Linked DNA regions of Homo sapiens: regions 1, 2, 4 and 5 are each linked to region 3. Evidence: promoter capture Hi-C in 16 types of primary human blood cells and fetal thymus (Javierre and others, 2016). All regions are on one chromosome and are shown on one strand. Each heading gives the region's core, a stretch centred on a gene start or on the middle of the fragment in contact. The rest is flanking DNA. Distances are from core to core; before and after follow the strand shown.

The links. Contacts are between HindIII fragments. The CHiCAGO score rates a contact against its expected background, and 5 or more counts as called.
Region 1: a contact is called between a fragment that was not itself captured here and the fragment with the promoter of ATL1 in region 3, in 2 of 17 cell types (M0 macrophages and total B cells). The highest score is 5.4, in M0 macrophages.
Region 2: a contact is called between a fragment that was not itself captured here and the fragment with the promoter of ATL1 in region 3, in 1 of 17 cell types (megakaryocytes). The highest score is 7.9, in megakaryocytes.
Region 4: a contact is called between the fragment with the promoter of L2HGDH here and the fragment with the promoter of ATL1 in region 3, in 16 of 17 cell types (naive B cells, fetal thymus, M1 macrophages and 13 more). The highest score is 7.7, in naive B cells.
Region 5: a contact is called between a fragment that was not itself captured here and the fragment with the promoter of ATL1 in region 3, in 1 of 17 cell types (megakaryocytes). The highest score is 5.2, in megakaryocytes.

Annotation. Positions count from the first base shown.
Region 1 is chr14:50,326,885-50,332,459 of GRCh38, reverse strand. It overlaps CDKL1 (cyclin dependent kinase like 1), which reads left to right. Exons shown (of 10, transcript NM_004196.7): 9 at 28-198; 10 at 2,279-5,575. The coding sequence ends at 2,386. It overlaps DMAC2L (distal membrane arm assembly component 2 like), which reads right to left. Exons shown (of 6, transcript NM_001382507.1): 6 at 4,503-5,575. Among named protein-coding and RNA genes, the nearest start is that of DMAC2L, 17 kb to the right of the region's middle. The HindIII fragment of the contact is 778 bases long and covers 2,193-2,970 here.
Region 2 is chr14:50,750,908-50,755,855 of GRCh38, reverse strand. NIN (ninein) reads left to right here. Exons shown (of 31, transcript NM_020921.4): 19 at 989-1,114; 20 at 1,224-1,293; 21 at 3,123-3,338. Among named protein-coding and RNA genes, the nearest start is that of NIN, 78 kb to the left of the region's middle. The HindIII fragment of the contact is 518 bases long and covers 1,007-1,524 here.
Region 3 is chr14:50,558,861-50,564,001 of GRCh38, reverse strand. It overlaps ATL1 (atlastin GTPase 1), which reads right to left and starts at 3,857. Exons shown (of 14, transcript NM_015915.5): 1 at 3,703-3,857. The coding sequence starts at 3,736. It also overlaps a transcript of MAP4K5 not described here. RefSeq lists a silencer at 3,163-3,522 and an enhancer at 3,264-3,763. The HindIII fragment of the contact is 3,968 bases long and covers 1,995-5,141 here.
Region 4 is chr14:50,310,418-50,315,407 of GRCh38, reverse strand. L2HGDH (L-2-hydroxyglutarate dehydrogenase) reads left to right here and starts at 3,179. Exons shown (of 10, transcript NM_024884.3): 1 at 3,179-3,397. The coding sequence starts at 3,258. It overlaps DMAC2L (distal membrane arm assembly component 2 like), which reads right to left and starts at 3,084. Exons shown (of 6, transcript NM_001382507.1): 1 at 3,019-3,084; 2 at 782-817. RefSeq lists silencers at 2,700-2,929, 2,990-3,119. The HindIII fragment of the contact is 12,145 bases long and covers 1-4,631 here.
Region 5 is chr14:50,722,086-50,727,475 of GRCh38, reverse strand. It overlaps NIN (ninein), which reads left to right. Exons shown (of 31, transcript NM_020921.4): 30 at 1,410-1,523; 31 at 3,804-5,390. The coding sequence ends at 4,013. Among named protein-coding and RNA genes, the nearest start is that of SAV1, 56 kb to the right of the region's middle. The HindIII fragment of the contact is 1,811 bases long and covers 2,866-4,676 here.

The DNA.
Region 1 (5,575 bases), core at 1,332-3,831, 230 kb after region 3:
AGAAGAAGGAATTTTCTGTTCTTTTAGGGCTGTCTCCACATGGACCCTACTCAAAGGCTGACATGTGAACAGCTGTTGCATCACCCATATTTTGAAAACATCAGAGAAATAGAGGATTTGGCAAAAGAACACAACAAACCAACAAGGAAGACCCTAAGAAAGAGCCGAAAGCACCACTGCTTTACAGAAACATCCAAGGTTATAATTTGAAATGATCTCCTACCTGCCACCTGGTACAGAGAGTTGGAATCTAGACTTGAGGATGGCAGTTGTGGCTTTCAGCTCCAGCATCCTCATTCCAGCACTAGGAGACAGGTCATAGGATCTATCAACCAGGGCCCCAGGGACATCTGTCTCCTGAAGCCCCCTCTCCCTGAATCCTAAAGGTGCCCTTGTCCTGCTGCTTCCTGATGCCACACAGGGGCCAGGGTTTCCAGCCTGCATGAGCACAGGTCTCAACAAGGTACATGAGTATGAGTCCAGCTAAGGAGACTTTTTGGGCTTTGGAAAATGAAATCAGATTTTCCCCATGCAGTTCTGTGTCATCATGTACACTTTTAGTATTAAAACTAACACTCCAGGTTTGTCCAAAAAAGGAGCTGTTTTCCTCCCTGATCCTTTGTCAGAGTTGGCTAGGGCAAATACAGTGATGAGTGCTTTTGGTGGTATCAGCTGAATACATTTAACCAGAGAACAGCATCCAAACTGCACACTGGGAGACTGTGAAGAATCCTGATTGGTATAAAATGGCCTTACATTAAGCATCTTGTGATAAGCCAAAAGCTGTAATAATTTAGAATGAACTGTAGTTGGAACCACAACTGATCCTGGGTAACCTCAGGATCTACCTAGGTACTCCTTAAGCTATACATTATCTTGCCTTAGTCTTTCTCTTTGCAGCTTCCACTGCCCAGCATGCTGAATGGTACCAGGGTGTGTTGTGTATGAGGCTGGGAGGAGGGAAAAGGGTGAAAAAGGTCCATGAGGAACAAGTACAGCATGAACTCCAGGGCCCTAATGTAGATCACAGTTACAAAATTAATGTTTTATTCTCCATCATATGTGACCCAGGTAGCACAACAGGCCAGAAACAGACTCCTCCACCCCCACGCCAGAATTATTCCTTATCTCAGTATTAGTTTGTATTCGAGAGCAAAAGGTTTTGATGGAAATATTTCTATTTGAAAAAATAGGGAAACTCCACTATTTGGTGTATTGATTTTTTTTGAGACTGAGTCTCACTCTGTCGCTCAGGCTAGAGTGCAGTGGTATGATCTTGGCTCACTGCAACCTCTGCCTCCCAGGTTCAAGTGAGTCTCCTGCCTCAGCCTCCCCAGTAGCTGGGATTACAGGCATGTGCCAGTATGCCTAACTAATTTCTATATTTTTAGTAGAGACAGGGTTTCGCCATGTTGGCAGGCTGGTCTCGACTCCTGACCTCAGGTGATCCATCCGCCTTGGCCTCCCAAAGTGCTGGGATTACAGGCATGAGCCACCGCACCTGGCCTGGTGTACTGCTTTTAAATCCTGAAAGAATCAACTGATTTAAAAGTACTAAAAAGCACTTTTCTGAGGACAATGGCTGAAAAATTTTTTTCTAGAAAGTAAAAGTACTAAACAGTTCCCTTTTTAGGGATACCGAAGGACATATAGTGCAATACAAAAAATACAGGTGTGTTCTTTCATTTGACATTGACAATAAATTCAAACATTTTCAGGAAGCTTGAAGGAAGCAGTTTGTCTTTTTTCTTTAGAGATGGGGATCTTGCTATGTTGCCCAGGCTGCTCTCCTGGGCTCAAGGGATGCTCCCACTCAGCCTCCCTTGTAGCTGGAACTACAAGTGTACACTGTGCCATGCTTGATTTGCCTTTTTAACTAAGGGAAGAGAGTGAGTAGGCAAATTGCCTAGGTGCTCTGTTTATCAGTTTTCTCCGCTATAAGACAAGGCATTGGCTTAAATGATCCCTAAGATCTCAGCAAGCTCTCAACTCCTGTAAATCTATGTTTTCTTCCCAATAATGTTAACATGTAGATTTTCCCCTTTTCATATTCTCTAAATCTTCTTTAATGTGAATGTTTTTCCTTTTTAATATAAACATTTAAAAGGAAAAGCCAAGACGAAATTGAAACATTTAATCCTCTCTCAAGTCCTGGATTGTGTGCAAAAAAAGTACTTCTATACTAAAAAGCTTAATTACCTCTTTTGTGATATATTCTAAATAATGAAAAAAATGCATGGCACAGTTTTGAACCTAATTCTGTGTTTTGCATTTTTAGTTGCAGTACCTACCCCAGCTAACTGGCAGCAGCATCCTTCCAGCTTTGGATAATAAGAAGTACTACTGTGATACCAAGAAACTTAACTACCGTTTTCCAAACATTTAAAGGAGCTAGGAGACATGATTTTAAAAAAGGAATCAATAGATGCTTTGAAGAAAATAAAACTTATACAGTTGATTGAAAACAATTACAATGTTGAAAACACACCAGGAGAAAACATAAGCAAGAAACTGGGAGGCCAACTGGCAAGATATGAAGGGAAATTCCAGATCCAGTCTTCCATGCTTGATGATGGTGTCCAGAAAAGAAAAAACCTGTTTGGAGTTGCACTTGTATTTCAGTTTATGTAAGTAGCCGAACTTATGGACAGAATATGAACTGTCCCATACCTCTGGCAAAACTAGATGATATCAAAAAGATTTATGCTTCAGTTGTACCACATGCCACACAAGAAAAATGAACCACAAAATGCCCATATATATTTCCTCGGATCTCTGTTGCCTGAGTCCTATCTCCTGCCTCTCAGATTGTTTCAGCATCATATTTAAGATAGTTCTATTTCTTGAAATCAAAATGTTTAAAATCCCATTTCCTGCTTGCTCTATTTCTTGATTTTTATATTTTAAAACATTTTGAGGGTAACACTTAGGTTCAAAATATTTAAAAGCATATGAATTATCACAAAAGCTTGGTAATTTATAATTTAATTATATGTTTCCACATTTCATCCTTACTTTATCAGTAAAGGATACACCTTAGTCACTTTTGCAGGCAACGTGGATTTACTGTAATCTGTCTACATTTATTCACCCAATTCCCCTTGTAAACAATGGCATGAAGCTCGGCAGCTGATTAAGGCAGTCAAAGGGTAGAGCAAGACCTACAGGCTTTGCAGGAACTGAACCTATCAGCCTGAAAATAATTAGTATTTCATTCTCTCTGGCACAGCCTTTGACCTGGTACATCTATAGGCAAACCTGTAATTCAGTGATCTGGGTTTCAGAAGAAATTACTTGTGAGCTTTTACTTGAGTCATGAAAGACATTATGTTGTAAACTGATGTTTTCCCTGAAACATCTTTTTGCACTATGTTTGTATGTGTATGTATGTGTATGTATATATATATATATATATATATATATGCTATTCTAACAACTAATATATTACACTAAGTAGTCCAAAGTATTGAGGACTCATAGCTTTGCACAGTGAGACTTAAAATGATGACACACACACACATATATATATATGTGTTTTTTATATATATATATAAAACCTGCCACCTCAGCCTCCCAAGTAGCTGGGACTGCAGGCATGTGCCACTATACTGGCTAATTTTTTTGTATTTTTTGGTAGAGGCAGGGTTTTGCCATGTTCCCCAGGCTGGTCTTGAACTCCTGGGCTCACGTGATCTGAGCGCCTTGGCCTTCCAAAGTGCTGGCATTACAGGCATGAGCCACTGCGCCTGGCCAAAATGACATAATTAGCTTTGATTTGGTCTACTGCTCTTAATCAAAAAGCTTTTTCATCCTTGTCCCCTGGACACAAGGGCAATATGAAGCCTGACGTCTGTTTCTTACAGCTCAACACCATTTCTGGTTGATGTGCTGCCACTATTCCTAGCACTTCTCAGCCATGGTCTTCAAAGTTGTATTTCACTCTATTTTCAAAACATTTCTTCTGTACTCTCATTTTCTTCCTGTTAATTTTCTTCATGATGACATCTGACCCCATTTACTTAAGTAATCCACTGAGGTCTGGTGTCTACTCAATAATTTTGACTACCCTAGGCAGTTTAATGATATCCTAAGGCTTCCTAATGTATGTCTTTTCTTGCCTAGACCTGATATGGGTTAAATGCTAGTCCCTGAATTATTCAATTCCTGTTAGACGGCCTTGATTCAAATGACAAGGAAGAACATCCAGCTTCCGTGAATAGTTAAAAAAAAATTTTTTTTTCCTTAACCCAAGAAAATACACTTGACGGAGGCAGATTACTATAACAGCCTAATAATTCAGCCAATAGTTTTACCAAAAACTATTCAGAATAGAAAAGTAGCTCTAGACTAAATCGTGGTGAATCAGTTGTCTCACCATACAGTAATGAAACAAACCTGAGAAAAAAGGCTTATTTTTTTCTAATGAGTTCCGTTAAATTTATGCTTATGTTCAATTTAACCATATTTATAATGCTTTTATTCGGTATGAAATCTCCACTGTATCACATGAGACTCTTCCACATCCTTTTATTTACTATTTTCTGATTTTTAAAATGACAGTGGCAATTACCATTTATACTGTGTTATTTGTATAAGCTGTTAAACACAACATTGTTAAACACAACGAAAATTCATTTTTCTACCTGAAAGCTGTATCATAGAAAATTATTTTCAAGTTTATATTCAACAGCTTAATAATGTTCAAACCAGGCTGGGCGCGGTGGCTCCCAGCACTTTGGGAGGCCGAGGCGGGTGGATCCTGAGGTTAGGAGTTCAAGACCAGTCTGGCCAAGATGGTGAAACCCTGTCTCTACTAAAAGTACAAAAATTAGCTGGGCGTGGTGGTGGGCGCCTGTAATCCCAGCTACCTGGGACGCTGCGACAGAGAACTGCTTGAACCCGGGAGGCAGAGGTTGCAGTGAACTGAGATCACACCACTGCACTCCAACCTGGGCAACAGAGTGAGAGTCTGTCTCAAAAAAAAAAAAAAAAAAAAAAAAGTTCAAATCAAACACACAGAAATCTATAAACAAACTGGCATATAAGAGTAATAGAATCAGGGCCATTTCTCACAGGTAACAATGAAGACCTGTTTTATCTATTTTTCACTTTTTTTTTTTTTTTTGAGACAGGGTCTTAATCTGTTGCCCAGGCTGGAGTGCAGTGGTGCCAACATGGCTCACTGCAGCCTCGACTTCCCGGGCTCAACTGATCCTCCTACCTCAGACTCCTGAGTAGTTGGGACTACAGGCATGTGCCACTACACCCAGCTATTTTTTATTTTTTAATTTTTTGGTAGAGACAGGGTTTTGCCATGTTGCCCAGGCTCGTCCTGAACTCCTGGGCTCAAATGATCTGCCTGCCTTGGCCTTCAAAAGTGCTGGGATTACAGGCCAGCCCTTTTTTTTAAGAGACAGGGTCTCCCCCTTTCACCCAGGCTACCAGGCTGGTGTGCAGTGGCCGTGATCATAGCTTACTGCAGCCTCAAACTCCTGAGCTCAAGCAATCCTACCACCTCAACCTCCCAAGTATCTGAGATTACAGGTATGCACCACCATGCCTGCCTAATTTTTAA
Region 2 (4,948 bases), core at 16-2,515, 190 kb before region 3:
CCTCTACAGAAAAATAAAAAAATGTTTGCTGGGCGTGGTGGTGCACACCTGTGGTCCCAGCTACTTGGGAGGCCGAGGTGGGAGGGTTGCTTGAGCTTGAGAGGTCAAAGCTGCAGTGAGCCATGATCATGCCATTGTACTCCAGACTGGGTGACAGAGTGAGACCCTGTCTCTTTTAAAAAAAAAAAAAAAAAAAAAAAAAAAAAAGAGACAAAACAAACAGTGGAAATTTATCTTAGAACATATAATTTGAGGAGCCTCCAGATTCTAATAAATATGCTTGAAAAGCAGAGATACAAGTAGAATTAATTTGAACCACTGCCCACTTGACATTGTAAAATATAATTGCATAGTCTTCTAGCAAATTTGGTTTTTCAAAAAAAAAAAAAACTTGTAAACTATTACAGGACGTCTGAAATGTCTCTGAAATAATTTAATTCTGAATGTAGTTTTTCCTCTTCTTCAGACCATTTTTAGTCCTAAAAATCAGAATATAATGAGATGAATAAAATCACAAAGTAAACAGTGTACATATTTCATTGTGGCCCTTTGATTTCAATAGAGAATTTTCTTTCCCTAGGTACCCAGGGGCCTAAAACTAAGCTAATATAGCTTTGTAACATGGCTTATGTGTATTCAGAACAGGTAGGACTTGAGACTGAGATAAATGAAGACATTTGCTCAAAGCAGTATGCTTGCCATTGAGAAAAATCAACAACCAGAATGAGCATTGAGTCTTGATTCATTTCTCCAGGCTTAAGGGTTTTTTAGCTACACTTCTCTAACATCTTTTAGTGAAATTCTTACTTCCCAAAAGAAATGTGTCAATATGTCATAACTCGATTTCCAAATACTAAGAGACTACTAATTTAGACTTTTCTTTTTAACTGGCATTGAATACTCATCCTTTTGGAAGTTACTAGAAAATATTTTCCAAAGATGCCAGATGACTGCCTTGTAACAATTTTTTTCAATCTCTGTGCTTCAGATATGAATCTGAAAAGCTTCAACAGGAAAATTCTATTTTGAGAAATGAAATTACTACTTTAAATGAAGAAGATAGCATTTCTAACCTGAAATTAGGGACATTAAATGGATCTCAGGAAGAAATGTGGTAAGACGTATACTTACATTTTCCTAAGACATTTTTGCAAAGACTAAAATTCTTTTACTTCAGCTTTTAAAGCCTAACCATTAAATTTTATTTTCATCATTCCTTTTAGGCAAAAAACGGAAACTGTAAAACAAGAAAATGCTGCAGTTCAGAAGATGGTTGAAAATTTAAAGAAACAGGTAAGGAAATACTTAATATTTCTCAATGTTTTTTGATTCCAAAATTTTCCCATTTTTTGAAATTTATAAATTTACAGCACACGGTAATGAATAGCATATAGCTAATGATGGTAAGGTTGTAAATTCTGAATTTGAAAATGGAAACTTACCTCATACTGACTCTAAACTAGCTTCCTGTTTTATGTTAAATAATGTATATATTATTCTAGGCCCTAAGTGCTTGATAAAGCTTTATCATCAGCAGAATTGAGGAGGTGATACCTCTAAAACCATACCTACGAAATATTAGCTGTAGCCCTTGTGCAGTTTCAGTTAATGTTAGCCCTTCCTTTTTCCTCACCATGATTGAAAGCAGAAAGTTAAGGGCAGAATTTCACATATACAGAATGCCAGCTAATCAGCATATCATTTCACAGAATTACATTTTATTCAGATAGCTGGTGCCATTCAGTGCTCAATTTGTATAATCTTACAACATGCAGTTATAAAAAGGGAAGGCCATTTAAGAATCTGTCTGAAGCAGTCAAAAGACAAGGACATATTGGGAAAGAGTATTTTCAGCACTTGAAATAGACAAGGTGTTAACATCCAAAATGTATTTTGGACTCTTACAAATAAATGGGAAAATCCAGTTGAAATATAGGCAATCTATATGAATGGTCAAGTCACAGAAAAAAAAAAGAATACAAAAGATGGTTAGCCTTATTAGTGATTAGAGAAGTGCAAATTCAATAAGCGTCTTTTTTTTAACCTATTGAATTAGCAAGAAGTAAAGATTGATATCTAGTATTTAAAAGGATGTGAGGAAATGACTGTGCCCATGCATTGTTGTTAGGATTATAAGGTGGTAGCACTGTGAGGAAGACATATTAGAGATATCTGTTGAAACAATAATGAATATATATCTATATACAGATCTTCTAACCCAGCAATCCTACTTCTAAAAAATAATTCTAAATACAAAATACTACCATGTATAAATGGATTTTCTAAAAGATCCATTTAAAAGAAATAATGATTTTAAAAACTTTATGTCTATCAACGTGGGAACAGATAAATGCATTATGGAATATCTTACTACATGGAATATCCTATAGCCAGTAAAAAGTAGTATGTGGTGGTTGCTGAACACACTGACTTGGAAAGAGTCTTTTTTCCTTTTGAGACGGAGTTTCGCTCTTGTTGCCCAGGCTGGAGTGCAATGGCGCAATCTCAGCTCACTGCAACTTCTGCCCCCTGGGTTCAAGCGATTCTCCTGTCTCAGCCTCCCAAATAGCTGGGATTACAGGCACATGCCACCACACCCGGCTAATTTTTGTATTTTTAGTAGAGATGGGGTTTCATCATATTGTTCAGGCTGGTCTCGAACTCCTGACCTCAGGTGATCCGCCTGTCTCGGCGTCCCAAAGTGCTGGGATTACAGGCGTGAGCCACCGTGCCCACCTGGAAAGAGTCTTTAAGTAAGTAAGTAGAAAAAGCAAGCTGTCCAAACATAAAATTTCCAAATTTTGCTAAAGAGAAGAAAAGAATCTGTATGTGTGTATGGGTTCTGTATATGCGTAGAAAATGATCTGGAGGGACACATATCCAGCTGTGGACAATGGGCTCCCCTGTAGAGTGGGGTCAGACTGAGTGTCTCACTTCTTCATACACTTGTGAATGGAATGAATTTGTAATAATGAGTGTGTATTATTTCTGTTTTGAAATATATATATATTTTAAACTTTATATAAAGAGGGAAAAGACAATTATGTCTCTAAATCTGTTTTTTTTTTTTTTTAGCACAAGTAGGGTAACAAGTTTGAAAAACTTATTTTAATTTTAATTAGATTTCAGAATTAAAAATCAAAAACCAACAATTGGATTTGGAAAATACAGAACTTAGCCAAAAGAACTCTCAAAACCAGGAAAAACTGCAAGAACTTAATCAACGTCTAACAGAAATGCTATGCCAGAAGGAAAAAGAGCCAGGAAACAGTGCATTGGAGGAACGGGAACAAGAGAAGTTTAATCTGAAAGAAGAACTGGAACGTTGTAAAGTGCAGGTATGGCCTGTAGCCACCTGACAGCTTTTTTTGAGGAAATCCCAAGAAATAGAAGAAATGTTTGTATTAAACTTCCTTAAACATAAAGCCTTAGTAATTAAAACAGTATGGTCCTGGCACATGAATAGATAAGTAGGTAAGTGGAATAGAAAGTCTAGAATTAGACCCAAATACAAATGGAAACGTAGTGTATAACCAGGGCCACTTCTCAAACCACTGGGGTAAAGATGGACTTTTAAATTAATGGTGCCTGAACAACTGAGTAGACATTCGGAAATAGATAAAATTAGACCTATGTTTCATTCCATGCACAAGGATAAACTTAATTGGATTAGGAGACTAAATATAAAAAAAAAAAACTATACAAATATTTGAAGAAAATACGGGTGAATTTGTCTTTAACCCTGGTGTAAAGAAAGGCTATTTAACTGTAACTCAAAAACCGGAGGCAATAAAAGAAAACACTGATTATATGTTAAAAAAAGTTTACTTGGCAAAAAGATACCATAAACAAAGTTAGAAGACAGCTGACAAACTAGGAGAAAATATTCACAACATATACCACAGTGAGAAGGCCTAATATCCCTGCTAGTAAAGAACTCTTAAAAATGGAGGGACATGGGACCAAAAATTTGATAGCAAAATGGGAGAAGCATACGAACAAATAAATCATATACAAAAGATAAAAATGGGCCAGGCGTGGTGTCTCACACCTGTAATCCCAGCACTTTGGGAGGCCGAGGCAGGAGAATAGCTTGAGCCTAGGAGTTCAAGACCAGCCTGGACAACATAACAAGACTCCATCTCTACAAAAAGTTTAAAAATTGGCTGGGTGTAGTGGCACACACCTGTGGTCCTAGCTACTCAGGAAGCTGAGGCAGGAGGATCCCTTGAGGCTGTACCACTACACTCTAGCCTGGGTGAGACCCTATCTCTAAATAATAAAATAAAATTATTAAAATGGCCCTCAAATCTATGGAAAAATGTTCAGAATCACTCAAAATTAGAGAAACGCAAATTAAAACAACACTTGTATAATTTCTCACCTATAAGACTGGCATCAATTTTAAAATATGACAGCATACTCTGTTGGCAAGGCTGTGGGGAAACAGACTCTTTCATGCTTTGCTGGGAGAATACAAACTGGTACCGCCTTTTTGTAGGTGAATTTGACAATACCTAACAAAATTACATATGTACCTAGCTTTTGCCCTGGAAATCTCACTTCTAGGAATCTACCCTAAAGATACCACCGCAACAATATGAAAACTCATATGCAGAGGGTTACTCACTGCAGCACTGTTTCTAATTGCAAAATGGTGGAAACAACATAGATGCTGATGTGTAGGAGAGTAGGTGAATACATGTGGGGGTTATGTCCATACCATGAAGTAGTACTGTGCAGCTGTTCAAGAAAAAGGAAGAAAAGAAATCCTTATTTATATGAAATGATTTCCAAGACATACTGTTAAGTGAAAAAAGAAAAGTGCAAAGAAGTATCTATAGAATGCCTTTGTGTGTGTAAGAAAGGGATATTAAAAAGTACATGTCTGCTCATTTGTGCAAAAGAAACACAAGAAGGATAAACCAGAAACTAAAAAGGGAGGGTG
Region 3 (5,141 bases), core at 2,608-5,107:
GGACTGTGGAAGCAAACAACTCTGAATTTGAATACTAGATCTATAACCTAGAAACTATGGTACCTCTGGCAAGTCATTTATGCTCTCTGAATCTCAGATCTCTTATACATTCAAATGATTAATAATAACAATGCCTATTTTGGAAGAATTGACTTTTATATGCTTAAATTTATTCAAACATCTTAAGAGTAGATTTAGGTACAGATGGTAGGATGCTCAGTTCTACTCAGACTCGCTTCCCAGTTTTATCTCTGGGTATGGTCTTCAAACATCGTCCTCAATTCTAGCAGTCAGCAGAGATGCTTTTCTGCTGTGTAGCTTTCATGGTCCCTGTAAGACCTACAGGTCTCTAGCTACTAAGATAAAAACACCTGTTATATGGTCCTTAGATTCCTTATCTAAATTTTAGCTCTCATGCTGATTTTGCAAATATCTTCCTTGCCCTTTTCTTGGAAATCACTGTATTTTCTCATTCTGGATTGTCTACCTTGATGCCTTTTTCTTTCTAACTTGTCTGAAAAATACTTACTTAGCTAGATAAGGTCAGTTCACTGTCTTCTTTTTTAAGCTCTCATAAGATTTTTCTCATGAGAGACCTCTGTCTACTACAAGGATCTGTTTTCTCTATTATCTTCACACCCCACCCCATTCTCTCCATGAAAACATTCCACAATATCATGTTATAGAAAATAAATTAGGAAAAAAACCCAGATTCTAATTTCAGTCCTTTTACTTACCAAATACATGACTTTCACCAAATCATTTAACTCACCTCTGAGTTAGTTTTTTCATCTGCAAAATAGTGATATGCCCTAAGACACATACTTAAGAGGTTGAAGATCAAATGCAATAATGCAGATGAATATGCATTGAAACTGTAGTTCTATAATATAATACAGAAGGTATTATCCATTCAACAAAGAGATAGAAGATAAAGGAATCTGAATTCAAACTGCCAGAGCAGGAATCCTGGGTCAATCATCTACTAGCTTTACCTTTTAATATGTAAAATGAGTATTACAGCACCTATTTCATATGACATTAGCTTAACGATGTTGGCTACTATTGCTGTTACTAAATGCCTACTGTGTTAGGCATTCTATTAGATACTGGTAATAAAATGGAATTAAGACTGACAGGGCTAATATCTGTGCCAAAACCTCTATCTCCTACTCCATCTACTACATTTTCTAAGTCATTTATGTCATATGTACTTAACAGCAAAGAAAAATCTAAGTAGTAAAGCATTTCCATAGAACATCAAGATAAGAGTCCAGAATTCCACTCTTTCTTTTCTATAATAATTTCCAGTAAACACTATAGTGATTCTAGTATTTCTTTTCCTAATCCATCACTTGAGTTGAAACTTTCCTGATGACTTCTGGGTAAACTATCTGAGATGTTTCTATCAAATGTAAATAATCTAAGGTAGTATTTCTCAAAGTAACACCTAAAGACCATCTGCTTCCCAATCACCTAAAATGCTAATTAAAAGGCAGATTTCTAGGCCCTCTTTCAGATCTATTGATTCCAAAGCTCTGGCTGGAAGATGGGAGAGTCTGCATTTCTAATAAGTCCCTGTGTGATTTTTATGAAAACCGGATGTGAGAACCATGTTCCCAAGAGGGAAAAACTCCCACTACATAAGAAGTTTATAAGGCCGGGAATGGTGGCTCGCTCCTGTAATCCCAGCACTTTGGGAGGCCGAGGCGGGCGGATCACGAGGTCAGGAGATCGAAACCATCCTGGCTAACATGGTGAAACTCTGTCTCTACTAAAAATACAAAAAATTAGCCGGGCACGGTGGCAGGCGCCTGTAGTCCCAGCTGCTCGGGAGGTTGAGGCAGGAGAATGGCGTGAACCCGGGAGGTGGAGCTTGCAGTGAGCCCAGAAGGCACCACTGCACTCCAGCCTAGGCGACAGAGCAAGACTCCATCTCAAAAAAAAAAAAGTTTATAGCCAAAGGAAATTCTGCGCAATAATGATCCAAAGCTTCATAAAGGAGAAAAATTTTAATCCTCAGAATACATTTTCACATGCTTCTGTTAACAGGGTGGAGACAACAATTCATGGAGACTGAGACCAAAAGTGACTTGAATATACGCACCCTAATTGTGTGTGTTCAATAAATTCCTATTCTAGAGGCCAAGAGAACGGGTGGAAAGGGGATACACTGCAAATGCTTACTTAAATTTCAGAAGAAGGAAATAAAACTTATTGCAATAGTCAGGTAGGTCTGTTAAAACTGAAGTTTCATGATCTCAGAAAATGGAACCACTTTCTCTTAAACTCAGCTAAGTCATGACAGACCTCCCCGCTCCAACTCTCCATGCCTACCACAAACCTTGGATAATCTCCCAAATGTAAACCTTGTCTACCGTATCCTGTGACCATTAGAACAATCAGAGGCAAGGAGATACACGGTCTTTTGATTAAAGTAAACTGAAATAACCAATTAAAATTTACATTTGTGCCTCTCGCTCAAATAAACAGTTATAGAAGAGCTCTCACTGAGATGTGGAACAGAATCAAGCAGCTCTGAACTTTTCAAATAATAACAACTGTTATTTCCAAATAACAATTTCTAAATAACAAGCTGATGAACAAAATATTTATTTACCCACCAAGCCACAGTAGCCTGAGACATTCTCTGGTTCAGATAATAAAATAAATGCCTTAGAGGGCTTTCGTTCCTAAGATGCTGGTGAGTTTAGCACTGTGACTGCAAGAAATCGGGAACCTACGACAAAAAGACGCCCAGCCTGCCCACACTAACCGTCCAGAACTAGGTCTGGAGCAGCAAGGCGGGCGGGGCCGCGATTTCTTCCGCATCGCTGCGCCCGTTCTTCTCCGCCTGCGTGAGCACCGCCCACCCACTCGCGGTGTGAACATACTGGGTCTCGCCTCTCCTTTCCCCTCCCCTCGGCCTGGTGCTGAATCATGAGCCCAATGTCTCCAAAAGGTAAAATCAAAGAACAAAGCCACCCTTGGGGCTGGTCTGAATGGGGTACCACGTCGGGGTGGGGCAGAAGGCTGGAAACCACAACTTTGCTCTCCTTCTTCCCCAATTCCCCCACCCAACCCCCAAATTAAGAGGAGTACTGCAGTGCTCAGGAATTCCCAAGAGGGTGGCCCTTCTCCCAGTTGCTCGGTCTGCTACCGTCCGTCCGGGACCCGGCGCGCTCCGCCTCATTGTTCCAGCGCGCCGCCCGCCGCCCGCCGCCGGGAGCCCGCGCCCTGCAGAGCCAGCGAGTTGGCGGCTCCCGGGGAGGGGGGTTGGGGCTTGGCCTGCTCTAGATCCCCGACCCCTCGCCCCTCTGGGGCCGAGTAACAACAGCCCCCTGCCCACCCCCATAGCCTTCCTCCCAACCGATCGCTAAGGCGGAACCCACAAGTCCCCGGAGGCGCCTGGTGGGTGCTGTCCAAATGCTGGGAGGAGGCGGGAGGGGGGTGGGGAAGAAGGAGCTGGAGGCCCGGCCTGCGCGAAGCTGCAGCCCTCACCCCGACAGCGCGATTCGGTGACGCGGGTACCGCTCGGCCATGGTTCCTCCGCCCAAACAGGGAGCGGCTCGGCTACGGCCCGTCTCCCAGCCGTGGACGCAGGCACCTAGCAGCCCTTGGCCCTCCCTGTCTCCACAGAAGCAGAAAGTGGAGGGCCAGAAGACCCCGTGCAGGCTGCAGAAGTTCTCATTTGCTACTCACCCCAACTGTTTCTGTCCCTGCGGTTCTTGGCCATGGTGGTCCAGGAGCTGGTGGCGGTGAGGCGCTGTCACTGCGCTCGCTGCCTTCTCCGGGGCCGCAGGTTGCTGGCGGTGGGAGGCTCCGTGCCCGCGCTGGGCGCAGTTCGCTCAGACTCTGAGGATGTTGCTGTGGCGCTGGTGGGAAGGAGTGGGGAGGAAAAGGGAGGAGAAAGCAGATGAACCAAGCTCAGCATCACAAGCCCGAGTTCACACAGATACCAGCGTCACACCCTCCCTACCTCAGTCCACCCCCAGACCGTGAAGACAGTGATAGACCACGTACCGCAACATTTTCAACGGAAAACACAAACAAATAAACAGCACCCCCCTCGAACACACTCTCAAAGAATTTAACAGCGTTATCAGAAATACACAAACCGATATACTGCATGATTCTGGATGTTCAAATACCTGTTTCAAGCACGGTTATACATTAGTACAAACAAGCTGGCAACATTTATATAGCCAAAGTAGCTAAAATAATGTGCATTTATCTACGAGGCACCCATTTTTTTTTCCATTTTAAAAGCAAGGTCATGTTAGTAAAGAGGGTATCATGCATTTTTGTATATGTATACTGAGTAGTTTGTCTTAAAATTAGAATAGCAAAATTTATATCAAGAAGATCAAGATAAATGAAAGCTGTAGATTCATTACGATCTGTAACTCAATATCCACTGGGTAAAATTTCCCACTAGATTTGCAAAGATAAGGTCCAGACCTATAGTCCAATAGCAATTATTTGAGCTGAAATCATACTACATAGTCTGGGTATGGGTGGGCCCTGGCAGCCATAAAGGTTGCAGACAATTTTGAAAGGAAAAGAAAAAAAATAAAAATACTTTCAATCTTTCCCTTTTCACTGCTTTCTCTCTGCTACAAACTTAGTTGTTTTCAGTAACCTGGAAACACTGTCCCTTTATACTACCTCAACCTCAAGATACCATCATGCCGTCCCTTACAGTTTCCTTCTGCCATTTGGTTGTTACTCACACTCTGTACTGATCGGTTCTTAGGAGATCACTGCCAGCCTCTTAATTACCAGATCCATGATCTCTGCTAATTCCTCATGGTAAGCAACTCCTCACGCTACACTCTCTCAATGTAATTTACTATGATGGCTTCAGACAGGACCTCCATGCTGATGATTCCCAAATCTATACTTGTAGTCTTCTGCCCTCTAGAAGAGAGGACATTATACCAGAGGTGTGTTTATAACTGCCTAAGGTTATCCTCACGTTGTTTTCCTACTGACATTTGAACATCAACATATCTGAAAACAAACTCCCCCACCACTGCCAAATCTTATGCATTATATTTCAGTTACTGGTTCTAGTGACTGCAGAGTCGTGAACACTGTAACCAAGTTTACAACATGGTTTTAAAGAAGTCTGTGCTCAA
Region 4 (4,990 bases), core at 1,930-4,429, 250 kb after region 3:
ACAGGCGTGAGCCACTGCACCTGGCCTGGAGTTTATTATTCTAAGTGAAGTAACTCAGGAATGGAAAACCAAACATCGTATGTTCTTACTCAAAAGTGGGAGCTAAGCTATGAGGATGCAAAGGCATAAGAATGACATAATAGGCTGGGCGCAGTGGCTCATGCCTGTAATCCCAACACTTTGGGAGGCCGAGGCGGGTGGATCACGAGGCCAGGAGATTGAGACCATCCTGGCTAACACGGTGAAACCCTGTCTCTACTAAAAATATAAAAAATTAGCCGGGCATAGTGGCAGGTGCCTATAGTCCCAGCTACTCAGGAGGCTGAAGCAGGAGAATGGTGTGAACCCGGGAGGCAGAGCTTGCAGTGAGCTGAGATCATGCCACTGCACTCCAGCCTGGGTGACAGAGCGAGACTCTGTCTCAAAAAAATAAATAAGCAAATAAATAAAAAAGAATGATACAATAGGCTGGGTGCAGTGGCTCACACCTGTAATCCCAGCACTTTGGGAGGCTGAGGCAGGCAGATCACTTGAGGTCAGGAGTTCAAGACCAGCCCGGTCAACATGGCGAAACCGCATCTCTACTAAAAATATGAGAGTTTGCCGGGCGTGGTGGCATGTGCCTATAGTCCCAGCTACTCAGGAGGCTGAGGCAGGAGAATTGCTTGAGACCAGGAGGCAGAGGCCGCAGTGAGTTGAGATTGCACCACTGCACTCCAGCCTGGGCAACAGAGCATAACCCTGTCTCAAAAATAAAAATAAAAAATAAACATGCACTTACCATATGACCCAGCAATTGTACTCTTGGGCACTTATCCTAGAGAAACAAAAACAGGTTCACACAAAAGGCTGTACACTCATGTTCACAGCTGCTTGATTCACAATAGCTAAAAACTAGAAACAACTCAAATGTCCTTCAATGAGTGAACAGTTGAATGTACTTGTATTAGTCCATTTTCACACTGCTGATAAAGACATACCCGAGACCGAGAAGAAAAAGAGGTTTAATGGACTTACAGTTCCACATGGCTGGGGAGGCCTCACAATCATGGTGGAAGGCAAGGAGGAGCAAGTCACATCTTACATGGATGGCAGCATGCAAAGAAAGAACTTGTGCAGGGAAACCTCCCGTTTTTAAAACCATCACATCTTGTGAGGCTCATTCACTATCTGGAGAACAGCACAGGAAGGACCTGCCTCCATAATTCAATCACCTCCCACCTGGTTCCTCCCACAACACATGGGAATGGTGAGTTACAATTCAAGATGAGATTTGGGTGGGGACACAGCCAAACCATATCAATACTGTAGTACATCTACATTATGGAATACCACTCAGTAATAAAAAGGAAGGAACTACTGATACATGTAACAGTTTGGATATATCTCAAGGGATTATGCTGAATGAAAAAGAGTCAATAAAAGTTACATACTGTATAATTACAATAATTACATTTATGTAACATTCTTGATATAACAAAATTTTAGAAACAGAGAATAGATTGGGTGGGGCTGCAAAGGTAAGTTGTGGTTATAAAAGGGCAACTGGAGGGACCCTTGTGGTGATGGACCTGGGCTGTACCTTGACTGTGGTGGTGGATACAAGAATCTACACACCTGATAACCATATAGAACTAAATATACACAGAGAACACTAATACAAAATGAGGAATCTGAATGAGATCAATGGATTGTGTGAATGTCAATTACCTGGTTGTGATATGGTACTAGTTTTGCAAGATGCTACCACTGGGAAGACTGGGTAAAGGGTACACAGAATCTCTATTCTTACAATTGCATGGAAATCCACAATTACCTCACAAAGTTGAATAACCATCTCTTTTTTTCATCTGTGATGGAACAAGCAGGCAATATTCTACATTGTTTTAACAAATAAAGCAAACTATGTACCACTGTTCTGGTGGTAAAACCCTTTAACCATAATAAATGTCATCACGTAGCAAATGCTTCACTGTGCTAAACACCTGCTGACCTTATCTCGTGTAATCCGCTCAACGGCCCTAAGACTAGGGAGACACTGCTATCATTCCTAGTTCACTGAGGAGGGTCTGAGGCAAAGAGGTGAAGTGATTTCCTGGAGCTACCTGACCAAAGACTGGAACCAAGATTCTTAGAGGCACACGAAGTCCTTCTGGTAATAAATCTGTATAATTCTATTTGTTATGTTCAGCTGTCCTAACCCTAAAAATTAAAAACTGCCATCAAGCATACAGAATGAGTGTTAGCAACACCGGCACAGTGACAATTTTAAAGAGTTAGAAGGTCCTTTAGAGATTACACAGCCCATCGCCCTCATTTTTACATAAAGGGAATCAGGTGAAGTGACCTGCACAGGTGAGTCGCTGCTCAGAGACCGCACAGCACATTTAAAACTGTATCTCGGTTCAGTACTCAAGAAAAGGACACAGACTTATAAATGGTGGCAAAAACCGAGCTGTCTGGTTCTTCCGGTACCCAGTGCCGGGTCGAGTACAGAGCAGGCGCTCCATATTTACAAGACGAATCAATGACTGAATGAATAGCACCGCCAGGAGCCCCATAAAAGAAGTCCAGAAGACTGCGGGCTGTCAGTCTTCGCTGTGACAAAGAGCCTCCGTGAGGAGCGAGGATTAGGGCCGGACAGGGAGCGCCCTTCTAGTGGACGCTCGACTGGGCTGGGGCCGGGATGGAGACGGTGGGTGCCCAGGCCCTCCGTCTACCGCGGGCCGCGTGCGGGGCCGAGCGAGGACCCGGCTGGAGCTGGAGCGGGGGCGGGGCGGGGGCGGGGCCGAGGGCGAGCCGGAAGAAAGAAGCCGCAGGGCCCGCCCAAACAAGAATTTTCACCGTAATCCCGCCCAGAGTTTCTCCCACGGCCCCATGTCCGCATGGCGGTGAAGGTCGAAGACGCGCGACCCAAAGGGCCAGGTTTTCAGTCAGCCCAGCGTTGGCGACGGGCGAGGGCAGAACACAACCACCACCCTAGTCCCGCCCGGCTCGGGGCCTAGCTTCTCTACTCACAGCGTCGGAGGGAGGGAGGGAGGGAGCGAGCCAGCGTCCCCGCGTCTGCGGCACCCTGGCCGGCCCTTCGCCCTCCGACGCGCGCGCCTATTGGCCACCGCAGCCTCTCCCACATGGGGCGAAGGCGCGCCACTTCATTGGCCCCCGCGTGAGGGGCGGGGCTAAAGAGCGCGGGTCCTCGGCCGTGGAGGGTCAAGTGGCTTCTTCTGAGCGCTGAGGGAGGGGAGCGTGCGTAGGGGATGGTGCCAGCGCTGCGTTATTTGGTTGGTGCCTGCGGACGGGCCCGCGGGCTTTTCGCCGGTGGCTCCCCTGGGGCGTGCGGGTTCGCGTCTGGGAGGCCAAGACCGCTGTGTGGAGGTAGCCGCAGCGCCAGCACCAGGTGAGTGGCCGCTGGTCCTCCCCGCCGCCTGCGCTGCTGCCCCTCGCGGAGGCACCTGGTGGTGGACCTGTGCCCCTGTTCGTATTTCCCTGTCCCGGGGTGAGAGCAGGTTGGGGTCCTGTGGCACTCCAACCTCGGATCCCAGGAGCTACCAACCTGCAGGTTCATTCGTTGTATTTACGGGCCGGAGGAAAGGCAGTGTATAGAGTAGAGGTCGGGAGTAGCTCTGGCTTTGAACAACCCGTCCACTTTCTGTTGAACTCTGGGCTAGTTACTTAACCTCCTTAAAGGCTCAGTTGTGAATTGGACCTTAGTCTCTCCTGTAGGTGGTCATTTGAAGGATAAAAGGACCTAGCACACAGTATAAGCAATCAAATATGCTCTTTATAAGCTGGAGTCTTTGGCGTTGCTTGGAAGATCTGAATACAGTCTTAAATCAGTTCCTGGCACACCCCGCATAGTGTTGCCCCCGTCGGAGGCAGCTCTTATGCTAATGAAAGCCCGCAGAATTCAGTGTCCTGTGATTTATAGTTTGGACGTCACATTCGAAACCATTGTCTTTCTCTGTCCTCTGTAGAAGAAACAGTTTGTGTGAAGGCTGTAAGGCTTGGAGAGGTTTTGGCTATTTTGACGACTAGAAGGTGGGCCATATGAGTGTGACTGAAGTTTAGTGGAAGACATATGGTGTGGAATGACCCAGAAGGACTACATCACAGCAAGGTTTTTAGTTTATTTTAACCACACGTTGACTTTTATTCTAAGAGCCACGGGAAGCTATTTAAAAGGGTTTTAAGAAGAGGCTACGCTTTAGGAGGCCGAGGCGGGCGGATCGCCTGAGGTCAGAAGTTGGAGACCAGCCTAACCAACATGGTGAAACCCCGTCTCTACTAAAAATACAAAAAAATTAGCCTGGCGTGGTGGTGGGCGCCTGTAATCCCAACTACTCCGGAGCCTTAGGAGAATCGCTTGAACCTGGGAGGCGGAGATTGCAGTAAGCTGAGATCGCACCATTGCACTCCAGCCTGGGCGACAGAGCAAGACTCTGTCTCGCAAAAAAAAAAAAAAAAAAAAAAAGAAAAGAAAAGAAAAAAAGAAGAGGCTAATAATTAAATGTTGATGTTCTAAAAGTTGACTCTGGCTGCTGCGTGTTGGTGGATAGGGGGAGTAGAGTGGGATACCAGTAATAGCGATTGTGATTTGTTATGGGGCATGTGGACAGTTCTTTTGGGAAGCTTTTCTTAAGGAAAGAAAAGTAGGGCTAGTGAAAGTTTTGTTTATACTTAAAATGTTTTTTTAAAAAATTTTTGGAGTCAGGGTCTCACTGTGTTGCCAAGGCTGGAGTGCAGTGGCACAATCATAGCTCACTGCAGCCTCCACCCTCCTGGGCTCAAGCGATCCTCCCTCCTCAGCCCCCCTCCCCAATGCTTCCTGTCCTCCAGGAGCTGGGACCACAGGCAGCTAATTATTTTCCTATTTTTTTGTAGAGACGTTGCCCAGGGTGGTCTCGAACCCCTGGCCTCAAGTGAACCTCCCTCTTCAGCCACCCAAAGTGCTGAGATTACAGGTGTGAGCCACCGTGCCTGGCCTATACTT
Region 5 (5,390 bases), core at 2,522-5,021, 160 kb before region 3:
AACATCAGCTTGTTACAAATCATTTTATTTATACCCTTTAAAGAGTGTGGATTTAAGATTCTTGAAAGGATGTAGTCTATATATTTTCTCATTCCATATGTTGTAACTATTTTTAACCAAAGGTACTACTTTTATATATGGAATTTGAAGAAAACCAGGGGTATTTATACTGTTTTGTATAAGATGTACAAATCTTTTTGACAGGAAATTTTTGATGAAACAATAAAATAAATTTTAAGTATATGACTGCCTTTGTTTTTCCTGTTTTTCCACTCTTTTGCCAACTCTATGTTCTTTGAATTATCTTTTTTTTTGTTTTGCTTTGTTGGGCAAATAGACATCATTTTGTATTTATGTTTGAACTTTAAAAAGCTATTATTTTTTTTTAAATATAGGCCTTTTTAAAAGCTAGATGTCCTCCAGGCCCAATTTTTTGTAACTTACTTCCTGCATTAGACCTTTGCCTATTACAATTTTTATCCTCCGGATAGTTACTACATGATTTAGGGTTTCTTTTATGATTAAGTGTTACTACTTAGTATCTAAACAGATGGTAGCCTTTGACTCATGTTTAGTCATTCTGCATGTCTTTTAAAGTATATCTTAACTACCATCAGCTGTTAATACCTTTATGAAATCTGAAATTCCTTATGGGGACATTTTGGTGGACTGCAGAGGGATGGGGGTTGCATTCTAATAAGTCAATTGCATTCTAATCTCTCTAGGTCTCTCTCCTCTCCAAAACTCACTTACTCCTTAACCCATCACCGTTGTGTGAGAACAGGAGATTTTTCATTTTCAATCTGCTCTGATAGTAAACCCATCCTCCAATCCAGATGTGTGCTTCACATTTACAAGTGGGAAACAGATGACTAGAAAAATTGGCAGGAAGAGGCTATTATGAAGAAAGAAACTTACCACCCTCACAGTCATCAGCCACTTCAAAGGAAAAACAGACATGCATATTGCAAGCTGATTGGTTATGTTAGGAAACCCTGAATATATTCAGTGCTTGTTTTGTTGTTGAGAGGCCCATAACATTGCAGAGACCCAGATCACAGATGGGAGGTTGATAGCGATCTTCCAAGTTACCTTGGATGTCCATTTTACTAGAGGTACTCACAGGTATTAAATTATGGGTTTTCAGAATTTTGCTTTATATCAGGGGGATGATGGTAACACAGGTAAGATTCTTTTGATTTTTCAGTCTGATCCTTTATCTGATAGGGTTACTTTTCTGACATATGCAATCCATGCAGGGCTCAAAACTCTCATTTCATGAGAAATCCATCCTTCCTGTTACAAAGGCAAAACATTTGCTGTCCTTTCTCTAGGCATCTTGTGGGGAAAATAAACCAGTGTTTTCAGTGTGACATGATTTTCGAATAATATACTTTTCTTCCCTTCAGGGAAACCAGGAACAACTGGTAACTGTCATGGAGGAACGAATGATAGAAGTTGAACAGAAACTGAAACTAGTGAAAAGGCTTCTTCAAGAGAAAGTGAATCAGCTCAAAGAACAAGTGAGCCTACCCGGTCATCTCTGTTCACCCACCTCACATTCCAGCTTTAACTCCAGTTTTACATCCCTTTATTGCCATTAACTCGTTAACTTATGTTGTCTAATAAAGGCAAATTCTATTATAAATGTCTGTAAGAACTTAGGATTTGCTATCCCTCATATCACCCCAAAAAATACGAACTCTGTATTTTTTCCAAAGCTCTGTTTAAGGCATGTTTGTCCACAATTTAAAAGTGTAAATCTTTGCTAACATGATTTACATGGACCTAAGATTTTAAAGATCAAAAAAAATCTATTGATTCACATAGACCTAAAGCATGTCCATTCACATGCTTTAGGTCCCTGTGAATCAACAGATTTTTCTCTGCCCAAGACAGGAAATATTCCTATTTAAATTGAAAAATGATATTGGTTAAAAAAATAGGGGGATAATAAATGGAACTTTAGCTTTCCTGTTCCCAACAGCTTATGAAAACCTCAACAAGTATCTTATTGCTACAGCTAGACTCCAAAAAGATGTACTTTGAGTTAGAATCTAGACCCCAGATTCCAGGACCACTTAAACAGCCTGCTCCTTTTCACCTGCTGGTGGCAGATGTGGCCTTGGTGTTTAGAAATTAGTTGCGCATCCACTGAAGAGACAAGCAGAAAGTACTACCCTCTGGGAGAGTGTTATAGCCTCTCTGGAAACTGAGATGAACATGTGGGGTGGGGGGCAGAAAATGCCCAACCTAGTTCTTTAGATACTTAAAAGCTAAGAATAACAACCCCAAGAGAGGGTCTGAATTCAGCTGTAGACAGCAACTTTTGGTTGTCCTGTTTCTTAATACACAGGGAAGAAAAAGTCCCATTCAGTGAGCATTTATCCATTCAGTTCTTTACATATTCAAGCATTCAACACATAGTTACTGTGGGCCAGGTCCTGCCGTGGGCACAGGGATACAACAGTGAACAAAGCCCCTGCCCATATAGAATGCACTTACAAGGTGCCAAGCGTTTGGCCAAATGGTAGGTTCAGAAATAAGTGGGATCCGTCCTGTTTTCAGTAGAGGAGAACACAAGAGAAAGACATATTTGATCCAACCCAGGAGTTTAAAGAAAGCTTCCTGAAGACCTCTGAAGCTGCATCTTGAGAGTTAAGATTTCAACTAGTTAAGAAAGTGTGGGGAAGGGTATCCTAGGCTGTGGGAACATCATGGAGTTATGACCACATGTGGGGTGTGGACACGTATAAACACTTCAGCATTGCCAGTTCACACTGTCCTGGGAGAAGCAGGAGGAGAGACTAGAGAGGAAGGGGGAACAGGACAGTAGGCCTCCAGTGCTGAGCCAAGAAAGAAGCTTGATTTTTATTCTGTCGGCAATGAAGAACCATCAAAGTGTTTTTTTAAGGAAAGGAAGAGAGGGAGGGAGGAAAAAAAGTTGTATTCAGGAAGTTCAACAGAAAATATGTTCTGAAATGTTATGTGATGTCTGCCAGTCATCTAGGTTCTGAGCTTGAGAGTGCTGTCATCCTTATCCCTGCCCTTTGAAATGCTAATAGGTTGTTAAGCTACTCTTTAGTTACTCTTTATTCTCATAAACCTTTATACTTTTAGATGCCCTACTTGAAATTGGGTGTAAAATGAACACTTGTAACATGGGAAGGGGGACTGGAAAATATTAACCAGAACAACAATGAAAGTATCCCAAGGCTGCTAACAAGTTTTCCCACCCCAACCTAGACCATATATTCTAACTATAAAGATTAGACTAGACAAGGCCCCATGCAAAACAAAACAAAAACAAAGACAATTCAGGAGAAGTAACTGCCCAAATCTTATCTCTGTTATAATACATGAGCTAAATTTTAAAATAATCAGTGGGTTGTAGTTACGAATGGTAAGTTCAAGTATCTGTTGTTACAAGCAGAGTTAAACAGTCCACACCTGACACCTCAGGAATTTAAGTTATAAAAGTATTTGATATTTTTAAAGAATAAATACAGAAATAATGCCTATTTAGGTAGAAAAAAAACTTTTGGTGCCATCTAATATCAATCTGTTCTATTAGTAACTGACATAAACATCTCATGCAAAGAAATAGCTTAGAAAAAGTAGATTTGTTCCAATGGTGTCCCTGATGCCAAGTCTGATGTTAAAGCTATTTTGTAAAATAAAAGAATATAATTAGACGAAGTGATTTGCCTTTATAAAACAACTGTCCTTATGTCAGACCTTAAACTGAAGGTTTAAGAAGAGTTACAGAAATGGAGTCAAGATGTTTCTGGTTCTGTTTCTAGCTCTGCAAGAACACTAAGGCAGACGCAATGGTGAAGGACTTGTATGTTGAAAATGCCCAGTTGTTGAAAGCTCTGGAAGTGACTGAACAGCGACAGAAAACAGCAGAGAAGAAAAATTACCTCCTGGAGGAGAAGATTGCCAGCCTCAGTAATATAGTTAGGAATCTGACACCAGCGCCATTGACTTCTACACCTCCTTTGAGGTCATAGCCAAACCAAAGGGTACACTCATATTTGTGCACTTTACTGAAATAGATGAACATTTCAGTAGGTTCTCAACTTAAAATTAAGCCTAACCTAAAACTGCCAGCAACACAACTGGAGTTTCCATTTATCATAATTAGTTTTTCTAAATAGACCCTTATGGGAGTTTGAAAATAAATACTCACATATTTCACTACTTAAATTATTCCCAAGATTTGAATTTATTTTAAAATTTTAATAGCCACCAAGAATGTGGACATATGAAAATTCAAGAACCTAAAAAATACCAGTTTTGAATGAGTTTTTGTGGTTTTGGTTTTTTTTTTAATTATTACAAATCTATGTGTAAAATCTAGATATTTGAAGTTTGAGATCTGATGAGAATGGTTGTTATAAACTTTATTTTAAAACCAAATTTAGGTGTTCTTACATATTTAAATACTGGAAAGTCATTATAATAGTTTTGGTTCTTTGAATTGGTAGACAATTAGTAGAGTATAATTGGTTAGGAGGCAGGGCTTATTAAGTGGTTATTAACCGCTGACATCAGACAAACCCAAATCTGTAGAATTCTAACCTTCTAACACCTGTGACAGTATTACCACTCTTCTTGTATTATAGATTTAGAACTGATTTACTCAATTGCACTCTTAACTAATGTTAAAAGCTTACTTGCTTTAAACAGCCTTTTCTTCTTTCTCTTAAAAGTTTCATTTGGGGAGCTGGTCTTCTAAGAAACGGATAAAGCCACATAATTAAAGCAGTTGAACTATAGGGAAAGCACTGAACAAACCACTTTGGAGTAAATAGCTACTCTTAGAAAAGAGGGATAAGCAGACCATGTAGGTTTTCTGTCTCTCAAATCTTAGAGTTCATAAATTTACTTGAGGTTGCCTCAAGAACTCAGGGAACAATACTGTAAACTGTCTTCCTGAACTACTGTAGGGCCTCTCTAAGAATTTGAAATGTATAAACCATGTGACCTCATTTATTTGTCTTATATATTTACAGCCATACTAGAATTTTTATTTCTACGTTTTTAGTAAATTTAATATTCTGGGGGAAAAAAGGCCTTGATTTTAGGGTTAAAAACCTGACTTATAGAAGAGTTTATTTAATATAGGTCAAAATTTTCTGTGTTTCTTATTCCTTCTATACCTCAAATCTGATTCTAAGAATTTCTTACTGTGATAATCATTGGCATGCCACCTGAGGTCAAGGAGTGCCAAATAGGACTTTCCACTCATGCTCAAGATCAAAACTTTATAGAACAGTCAACATTTTAGATTCGGTAACCTTTTTTTTCTTCCAATTATAATCTCTGCTAGCCACTTCCGCCAGCAGTTGGTGGAAGACTTACTAGGTGCAGGGCACTTTCCAAGT